3 separate regions of the Homo sapiens genome follow, and regions 1 and 2 are each linked to region 3. Evidence: promoter capture Hi-C in 16 types of primary human blood cells and fetal thymus (Javierre and others, 2016). All regions are on one chromosome and are shown on one strand. The core of a region is centred on a gene start or on the middle of the fragment in contact, and the rest is flanking DNA. Distances in the headings are between cores, read along the strand shown. Region 1 overlaps ABHD12 (abhydrolase domain containing 12, lysophospholipase). Region 2 overlaps LOC101926889 (a long non-coding RNA gene). Region 3 holds the start of NANP (N-acetylneuraminic acid phosphatase).

Region 1 (3,161 bases), core at 418-2,917, 310 kb after region 3:
GTCTAATGGCTTGTCCTTTCCACTGGCTGCCCTGGAGTTGGCCTCCCTGCCTTAAAAGGGTGCTCCTTCCACACCATGTGATTGCTGTTCAGAAGAGCCTCTGTGGGAGAACCCAGGGTGGGTGCGGAGGGGATACATTTTCTGAACAAAGCATTGTTTGAAAACCACCAAGGTCTTCGTGTGTGAGAGAGGCAGCCAGGAGCCAGCACAGAGGCAGACCCAGCACGGAGACAGGGCTGCTGCGGGGCCAGGGCCGAGGTCCCGTGTGGCACCAGGGTATGTCAGGGCTGGGGGCAAACATTTTATAGGCAGAGCCAGCAAGGAGAGCTGTGCTGGGCCCTTCTGGAAGGGAAAGCAGGCCTAGGTGGGGTCTGCATGGTGGAACCCTGCAGAGAGCATTGCTGAAAGAGCCTGGCGGCATGGCCCGTGAAGCGGTTTCTGTGTCAGGGATGGCGTGTCTAGCTACAGAATCATGCATGTGCTGCACAGTTTCCTTTCTTCTTTGTCTGGGACAAGCTGCAGAGGGTTTCTCTTCTGCTTTTCAAAGAGCAAGTGGCTACAAACAGCTCTTGCAGCATCTTTTTATAAATGACAGAACTGTGGTTGGCTGTGAATAAGGTTCAGTTCTGCAGTGCCCATCACATGGTTAAAAAAAAAAAAAAAAGATCCTGCCTATAACTTTAGGTTAGAAAGGGATGCCGTGACTTTCAGTGTTTGCTGCCCCCTCCCAATCCTGCAGAGACTGCCTGGCTGCAGTCCTCGCCACCCCCACGTTGCCTGCTTTCTTTGTCCTGTGCATCCCACTGGGGTTTCGCTGGTCTGCGGGATCCACCACCCGGGTCCCCCTGAGGTCCAGACCCCCTGGATTCCCAGCAACTGTTCCTTTTTTGCTTAATGTAGGAAATTTTAGAAACTTAGAGCCACTGTGAACTCTTACAATGATAACTGAAAATATTTTGCAGTGTTTCCTCCTTGCCTTGAAACTCATTCCTTTATTTTTTATTTTAATTTTTGAGACAGAGTCTCACTCTGTTGCCCAGGCTGGAGTGCAGTGGCACAATCCTGACTCACTGCAACCTCAGCCTCCTGAGTTCAAGTGACTCTCCTGCCTCGGTCTCCCGAGTAGCTGGGATTACAGTCACCCACCACCATGGCCAGCTAATTTTTGTATTTTTAGTAGAGACGGGTTTCACCATTTGACCAGGCTGGTCTCAAACTCCTGAGCTCAAGTGATCTGCTCACCTCGGCCTCCCAAAGTGCTGGGATTACAGGTGTGAACCACCGCACCTGACCCTTTATATTTTTGTTTCTGTACTTTATTGGCTTCCTCCTCCATCTCATCCTGGTGTCCAACCAGCAACACTCCCGCCCCCATACCTGAAATGTTGAGACCGCTCCTGAGGAAGGAGGAGCACGGCTAGGGAGTGTGGAGAGTGTGGACCCGCCCTCCTCCCAGGTGGCCCATGTCCCTGCTGTGGGGTCGGTCCAGGTTAACAGCTGGCCAACAACTGGAAAGAAAGAGGGAAGGGAGCCTAGACAGGCCTCAGACAAGGAAGTACAAATGGGAGGGTGTGTGCCGAGCCCACTTAGTCTCAGTAGCGACATGCACGGTGAAGCTGTAGTTGGCTGTGAGGGGCGGGAGGCAGCCGTTCCGGCACTTCAGGGCCTCCCTGGGGAGATTCTAGGAGCATATCCCATGTGCAGAGCACACACATGTGAAGGGCTGTAAGGCAGGGTGGCCACAGCAGCAAACAGAAGTTAGTGCCAGGTGGGAAACAGTCAAGATGACCATGAGAGGCCAGGGTGGTGTGGCTAAGCAGAGTTCTGAAGGTCGGCTGAGACGTGCGGAGCAAGAAGTGAGGGCAGAAGTCGCCCATACGGGTCCTGTTGGAGCACAGCCTCTGTCTACACAGGGTGTCCTTGGCACAGGGAAGCTGGGAGGGTCTGGGGTGTGGTGGATGAGGCCTTGCTGTGTTTCCTTTAGTGTCTTTCTAGTTTGGGGCTGTAGGTGTGCATTACCTACTGAAAAATAAAAGCAGTCATTAAGAAATCTCCCCCAAAGTGCTAAGACCATCTCCCCCTTGGCACAGCACTGCCAGAGGCGAGTGTGGGGCTACTTAGGGGGACCCAAGGAAGAGGTTCTGCCCTCTTTCATTGGCCTCCCCCTGGTTTGGGGTATGGAGGACAAGTTGACCTGGGGCCCAACTCTGAGAAGATGTGCTCACACCATGTCCTGTTTTCTTCTCCAGAGGAGGCGACCACCGCGTGGAGCTTTACAAGGTGAGTGCAGGCAGCACCCACACCTGTTCCCTGGGCTGTTCTTTCCAGGGCAGGAAGTGAAGGGAGTCACCAGACTCACAGCTTGAGAGTTAACTATTGCTGGGCTGTTTGTGTGTGTGAGACAGGGTCCTCCTCCTCTGTTGCCCAGGCTGGAGTGCAGTGGTACAGTCACAGCGCACTGCAGCGTCGACCTCCTGGGCTCAAACTATCCTCCTGCTTCAGCCTCCTGAGACTGCAGGTGCATGCCGCCACCACGCCCAGCTAATTTTTGTTTGTTTTTTTGTAGAAATGAGGTCTCCCTATGTTGCTCAGGCTGGTCTCGAACTCCTGGGCCTCCCACCTTGGCCTCCCAAAGTGTTGGGATGACAGGCGTGTTGAGCTTTTTAACACTGCCTTTGGATGGGCGTGCTGGAAGGTAGGGCCTTGGCTGCCTCTGCTGTGACTGCCCATCACACTGCTTCTAGGCCTGGGCCCCAACATCAGAATGTATGGGCTTTGTAGACCAAGTGCAGATATTGGCAGACTACATAAGCAGCACTGGAAATTGTTTTTCAATGTTACGTTACTTGTGTATAAAATGAAAAGAGACGGCTGGGTGTGGTGGCTCACGCCTGTAATCCCAGCACTTTGGGAGGCCAAGATGGGTGGATCACAAGGTCAGGAGTTCAAGACCAGCCGGCCAGGATGGTGAAACCCCGTCTCTACTAAAAATACAAAAAAAATTAGCCAGGCGTGGTGGCGGGCGCCTGTAATCCCAGCTACTCAGGAGGCTGAGGCAGAGAATTGCTTAAACCTGGGAGGCGGAGGTTGCAGTGAGCCAAGATGGCACCACTGCACTCTAGCCTGGGCAACAGAGCAAGACTCCGTCTCAAAAAACAAAA
Region 2 (3,043 bases), core at 315-2,814, 430 kb after region 3:
TTTTTAGTAGAGACAGGGTTTCACCATGTTGGCCAGGCTGGTCTTGAACTACTGACCTCAGGTGATCTGCCCACCCTGGCCTCCCAAAGTGCTGGGATTACAGGTGTGAGCCATCGCGCCCGGCCCATAAATTTTAATCTTGTGGCTAATTTGTTAGTTTCACAAAGGTGGTCTGGTCCCCAAGCAAGAAGGAGGTTTGTTTCAGGGGGGGGCTGTTATATTTGGTTTAAAGTGAAATTATAAACTAAGTTTCTCCACAGATTTGTTTGGCCTATGCCCAGGAATGTGCAAAGGCAGATTGGAGGTTAGAAGATGGAGTCGGTTAGGCCAGCTTTCTTTCACTGTTGTAATTTTCCTATGTCATATTTTTCTTATTGTCATAATTTTTGCAAAGACACAACACCCGTCATTACTTGTTTGCTGACTTGTTTATTGGTAAATTCTTTGTTCCACTACTGAAATGAAGCTCCATGAGAACAAATAAGTTGGTCTGTCCTGCTCACTGCTGCATGTCTGGCACTCTGTCTAGAACATGGTAGGTGCCTGTAGCATACATTATTGGTGCTAATGTCCCTTGCCTGCCTCTGCCGTCAGCTCTCTGATTGTTGTGGAGAGTTCCCCTGAATGCTGCCACCTCAAGCATCTCGTTGCTGTCCTCTTTAGGGCTTATCTTACGACTTTCTCCGGAAGCCTTGGGAGCAGGCGCAGCCTGGAATTCAGGGAAATTTAACATCCCCGGGGCAACTGCAGGGCAGTTTGGGTGGCCTTGGACAGACCCAGTCCCCTTTTTACCATGTAGTTCTCAGGAATAACTGCAGAATGTGCTAGGATTGCAGCATCTTGAGATAAGGGAGAACTGGCTGAACAGCCCAAGGTCAGTTCCAGTCTCCTGCTGAAAATAGGATGTCCTTCAACACTGCCCAGCAAATCACATTACCCTGGGATGTTAAACCCAGGGCAGGCTGCTCTCTGGCATTCCTCGTCTGTGGTGCAAGTGGGGCATGCCCAGTTGAGACTCCATTTGCCCTGAGCAGATTTCCTGAGCCTCAGGCAACCAGCTTGCAATGAATGCTCCTCTTGTCCCTTGCTGCCTGTCTGTAAGTAATAAATTTGCTTCATATAACTTATTGAGTATGAATGCGTTCTCTCTCACTGGACACAGACATGTTGGTAACCAATGCACAGTGAACCTCCTTCACAGCAACCCTTAATTAACTGGGGATATATACCTCAGCCTTCTGTCCCCAGAGGACCAATTCTGAGTCCTCAGTAGAAGTGAGCCTCAGTGACCCTTAGTGGTGATCAGCTCAGTAATGCCCCCTTGGGTTGGTCCTCCGATCTTTCTCGGTTCTCTCTCTCTCTCTCTCTCCTGCTTCTGGGAATCACCTCCCAGGTCAACTACCTGCATCTAAGCTCTTGACTCAAACTGCCTTTGGGTAAACTCAAATGAAGTCAACATATAAAATATTTCTTGAAGAAATGGATGGATTGATGAGGGTGCTTCTAATGTTTTCACTTGTCAGCCAGAAGCAGCTCAGCCCTGCAGGCAGAAGGTGAAGGAAGCCAATTGGCACCCGCCCTAGGAATGCAGGAGCAGATAACTGAGACATGGGCTCCAGCAGAACATGTATGCAAGTGTTCTGACAGCAGGGGGGAGTGCCTGGCCCTGCTTTTTGGGGGTGAGAATGTTTTAGAAGAGGTTGGTGAGTTACCAAGCTGCCTCAATTTACCTAACTTGAGTAATAGTGGAGGAAGCCCTCTATTGTGTGTGGCTTGCTCACATGTGTCCACCTACTCACAAAAGTCCAGGAGGACAGCTGCAAAGCTGTCTGCTCAGTGAAGGAACAGAACATGGACTGTGCAGTGTCTCTGTAGCAGAGGCTGCCAGGCCTCCTGCCTGTGTCTGTCCCACTGTGTGCTCCCGTGACTCTCCACAGCAGGGCCTTCTTTTGGCAGAGGAAGTGCCAGGAGGTAATGCTTCTGAGAGCAGTTTCAGCCCATGTCAGGTGCAAAGACCCTGGCTCCCTTTCCACTCAGGACAACTCTCCGGCATGTCTACTTGGCATTGAACACAGTGGTCCAGAGCGGTAACCCACACTGGCTTTCCTCCCTTCCCTGTCTCACTGCCCCACTCCTCTACTGGTTTTTCCTGGTGTCACCTCCTAAATAAACTACTTGCACTCAAATCATTCTTTAGAATTTGTTTTGGAAGAATTCAACCTAAGATACCATCACTCATAGGTCATTTGTTAATAATATCAAACAAAACATCTTAGCCACTGCTCTGATTTCTTCCTTTGGTTCCCTGAAATCTATAACCACAAATCACTGCTTTCTCTACCAAATATTTTTCCTGTAACTCACCAAAAAAGTCAGATCTTCCCTGCTCATGGCTAGCCTTCCATTTTCCAAAATCTACTACAAACAAGAAAAAATGTGAGGGAAACCCTACTCTTCCCCAAGAGAACTTGGCATTTATGATTCCTGCCTGCCACATGGGCCATTGTGTGGTCTCTTTTAGCTTCCCGATGGATGATCCAACAGATGTCATCTTGCACTGTAGTGATAGTCTTGTTGGGACCACATGAAGTGCAGCTGTAAAACAGGTAATACTGTTCTTGGCAATTGGTCGACTGTCCTGGTAGGGGGAGACTGGTGTGAACAGATTGTCCCATTTAGAGTAGCTGTTAATGGACTGTCTTCTCTCCATGAGGGCCTTTAGCATTTTACATTGTATAGGTTGTCGTCTACCAGATTAAGAAAATGTTCTTCTATTTCTAGTTTAAGAGTTTTAAAAAATCATTAATGAATGTTCAGTTTTATTTTGTGCATTTCCTTCATCTATACATGATATTATTATTTTTCTCCACTAATTTTCTTTTTTGTTTGAGATGGAGTTTCGCTCTGTCACCCAGGCTGGAGTGCAGTGGCATGATCTTGGCTCACTGCAACCTCCACCTCCCTGGTTCAAGCAATTCCCCTGCCTCAGCCTCCCAAGTAGCTGGGATTACAGGCACACGCTGGCATGCCCAGCTAATTCTTT
Region 3 (3,161 bases), core at 304-2,803:
CTAACCTACTGAACATCAGTGGTCTGTTAAGGAGTTCCACCAGCGAGGTGAGAGACTGGCAATTTTTTTCTCTAAAGAGCTAAATAATGAATATTTTAGGATTTCCAGCCACGTGGTCTCGCTTACAATTACTCAACTCTGTCTGCTTCTGTATGGCAACAGCAGCCACAGACGATACAGAAATGAATGTGTGCGCTGTGTTCTAATGCAACTATGGGCACTAAAATTTCTTGATTTTCATGTGTAACAAAACACTGTTATTTTGATTTTTTAAATCCATTTACAAATGTAAAAATCACCCTTAGCCAGGCGCGGTGGCTCACGCCTGTAATCCCAGCTCTTTGGGAGGCCAAGACGGGTGGATCACGAAGTCAGGAGTTCGAGAACCAGCCTGGCCAACATGGTGAAACTCCGTCTCTACTAAAAATACAAAAATTAGCCGGGGGGTGGTGGCATGCGCCTGTAATCCCAGCTACTCAGGAGGCTGAAGCCGGAGAATTGCTTGAACCCGGGAGGCGGAGGTTGCAGTGAGCCAAGATCGTGCCACTACACGCCAGACTGGGTGACAGAGCAAGACTCCATCTCGAAAATAAAAATAAAAATAAATTAAAAAATAAAAAAAACCACTTAGCTCACTGGCTAAACAAAATCAGGTAATTGGCCTGTACCTGACAGTCAATTTCTGGTCACTAATGATGACCACATATCCAAATTACAGTAAAGGTACCCAAGAGAGACAAAGATTAGAGATTAGTGTTACGATCCCCGTTCTGCCAGCACTAGGAGACAAGAGTTGCTACAGCCCTTCCGCGGGTTTAAAAGGCGGTCGACGTCCCTCAACCTCTTGCTATGCCTGAAAACAACCGAGTAAAAGGCATCCAAAGACCTGAGAACGCAAGGTTTCAGGAAAACAATCAGGAAGGGCAAAACATGGGGCAGCCACTACACAGCCCCTCCGTCTTAGGGCACAGGTACTAAACGGGTTGTAAGAGACCCAAGTCACATCCTTCAGAAACGTGCTGGCGCGGGCCCAGGCAGACAGGGATTCCACCCCGGCGAAGGCCGCAAATGGCGCGAGGCGGGAAGGCGCAGGCTCCACCTTCCCCCGTCCCCAGATCACCTACAGTGACCTGCGCGTACAGGCAGGCTAGGACCGCGGGCGCTCAAGGCAGACATCAGGCCCGCCGACGTCTCCGCGCCGCCCGCCCGGCCACCCGGAGAGCCTGCTGCCCAGCGCCTGGCAGCGCGGACAACCTCTCTCGGGGAGGTGATGACGGTCCCTCGCGCCGGAGGGCCCAGGGAGGAAAGAGATAAGCAGAAAGACACCAGGGAAGAACACCACGCTTCGGACCAACGCCAGCCACAGCCACTGAGAAGTCGCCGCATCCGGCGGCGCCGACACACGTTTCCAGGGCTCTTGAGAGACCATACCCTGGGAGTCTCGCGGGATCTCACTTTTCTCGGCGGCGCAGGGAATGAGACAGATCGCGGGAATTCCACCCGCGCCGGGAGATGGTCTGGTGACTTCGCGGCTCCTCCCACGTCTCTCTGGGCAGTCCGCCTTGCGCATGCGCAGGCGGCGGTGGCAAGGCTACGGTTCGCGCCAGCGGCCGGCGCTATGGGGCTGAGCCGCGTGCGGGCGGTTTTCTTTGACTTGGACAACACTCTCATCGACACGGCCGGGGCGAGCAGGAGAGGCATGTTGGAGGTAACGTCCCCACCCATGGCGCTCCTCTGGGCGGGGTCAGTGCGCCCCGCCCCGTCCTGCACGCTCACCTCCCCTTGACCCCACTTCCACCCCGGCGCCGCGGGCCGCTCTTGCTGGTTGAAACCTGTGGAGCGTGCGGGTGCGGAGGTGGCTGGAGGCGCGCGGGCCCTGCGGGTCTGCTTTCCCTGGCCTGGCGGCCGCTTGTCACCCAATCTCGAGCCCTGGAGCGGCTGCTCGCAGGTGCCTTGGCGCTCGGGACGCGGAAGGGCTCCGTGACGGCTGCCACGGTGGCGGAGGTGCCCGTGGGCGCGGGAGGCGACAGCAAAGCCGCGAGACCAGGCGCTGGTCCCGCCCCCGGTCAGACTGTCGGTGTGGAGCTCGACAGAGGGTCGTGTCCCCCATGCGACTTTCGGGGTTGCTGGGAGGAGACATGGTAGAGTTAGCCCCAGTGTTGACCCAAGAAGGGACACGGCTGTCAGTACCGAGCCTGGACTTAAGCCCTGCTTTAGAGAATTGTCGCCGCAGAACTTCTTCTGGCCTCCCTGGCGGGGTGGTGGTCACCGTGGCTTTCTGACACGTGACACAGCAAAAGCCCGTGCTGCGAGGGCATGCCCTTCCTGAGGCGCTCCTCCGCGGCACTGCCCCTCTACACGCGCGGAGGCGCTTTCAGACCTTCCCGTGTTCCAGCCCCAGTCCACCCCGGCTTCCCTTTCTCTACCTTCAGCTTCAAGGGGAAAGGGAAGGATTTATCAGATGTGGAAAACTCACTTTCAAAAGCTAATTCATCCAAACCTGAGCGCCCCGTCCTCTTCATGCTTCATCAGTTAGTTTTTGTGTCCCTGGATCTTCCACTACCTCATCCGTTTTCTTTTTAGCTGCATTCCACTCCTGCCGCATATTCATGTTTGCCCTATAGTTTTAAAAAAGCTGTAAAAAGGATGCCTCCCTTTGGGCTATTCTTCCTGCTGTAGATGTTGCCTGTCTCTCTTGACAGCCATGTTTTCCCGGAGAAATCTATACCCGTTATCTCCTTGTCTCTACCTCCTATTTATTACTAAATCCATCGTAATGTCGCTTTATCTTCACCGCTAGACTGAAATAGACTTGCTGGATCACTAGGCATTCCCAAAATGCCGGAATCAGTAGACATTTTTAAAGTCTGTCTTCATGACTTTACTGAGGCATTCCACACTTTTAACTTGTTGGCCTCCACCTCAGGGGTGCCACCCTGTGCCATATTGCCTCCAGTATCTCTCGCTGCAGATGTTACATATTTACCTGTGTGTTATTAGTAAGCTGAGTCCTGTGCATTTCAATTAAATTATTGCTTTAGGCCAATTCTTGCTGTAGGCCCAGAGTTTGGGCTTTAAAATCAGACATTTGAATATGAATCACAGCTCTCCCAAAACCTAGCTGAAAGTGCCTCAAGGAATTAACCACTCGGAGCCTTATA

The links. The method cuts DNA at HindIII sites, captures the fragments that hold promoters and counts their contacts. A CHiCAGO score of 5 or more calls a contact.
Region 1: a contact is called between a fragment that was not itself captured here and the fragment with the promoter of NANP in region 3, in 1 of 17 cell types (monocytes). The highest score is 5.7, in monocytes.
Region 2: a fragment that was not itself captured here is called in contact with the fragment with the promoter of NANP in region 3 in 2 of 17 cell types (monocytes and total B cells); the score reaches 7.5 in monocytes.

What each region holds. Positions count from the first base shown.
Region 1 is chr20:25,316,167-25,319,327 of GRCh38, reverse strand. It overlaps ABHD12 (abhydrolase domain containing 12, lysophospholipase), which reads left to right. Exons shown (of 13, transcript NM_001042472.3): 5 at 2,250-2,280. Among named protein-coding and RNA genes, the nearest start is that of PYGB, 70 kb to the right of the region's middle. RefSeq lists enhancers at 299-538, 569-628, 1,742-2,351. The HindIII fragment of the contact is 6,692 bases long and covers 1-3,161 here.
Region 2 is chr20:25,189,781-25,192,823 of GRCh38, reverse strand. It overlaps LOC101926889 (a long non-coding RNA gene), which reads left to right. Exons shown (of 6, transcript NR_109994.1): 2 at 2,522-2,606. Among named protein-coding and RNA genes, the nearest start is that of ENTPD6, 4.4 kb to the left of the region's middle. The HindIII fragment of the contact is 3,902 bases long and covers 1-3,043 here.
Region 3 is chr20:25,622,406-25,625,566 of GRCh38, reverse strand. NANP (N-acetylneuraminic acid phosphatase) reads left to right here and starts at 1,553. Exons shown (of 2, transcript NM_152667.3): 1 at 1,553-1,708. The coding sequence starts at 1,619. It overlaps ZNF337-AS1 (ZNF337 antisense RNA 1), which reads right to left and starts at 1,522. Exons shown (of 4, transcript NR_126465.1): 1 at 1,432-1,522. RefSeq lists enhancers at 1,464-1,633, 1,605-2,280 and a silencer at 1,804-1,863. The HindIII fragment of the contact is 6,234 bases long and covers 1-3,161 here.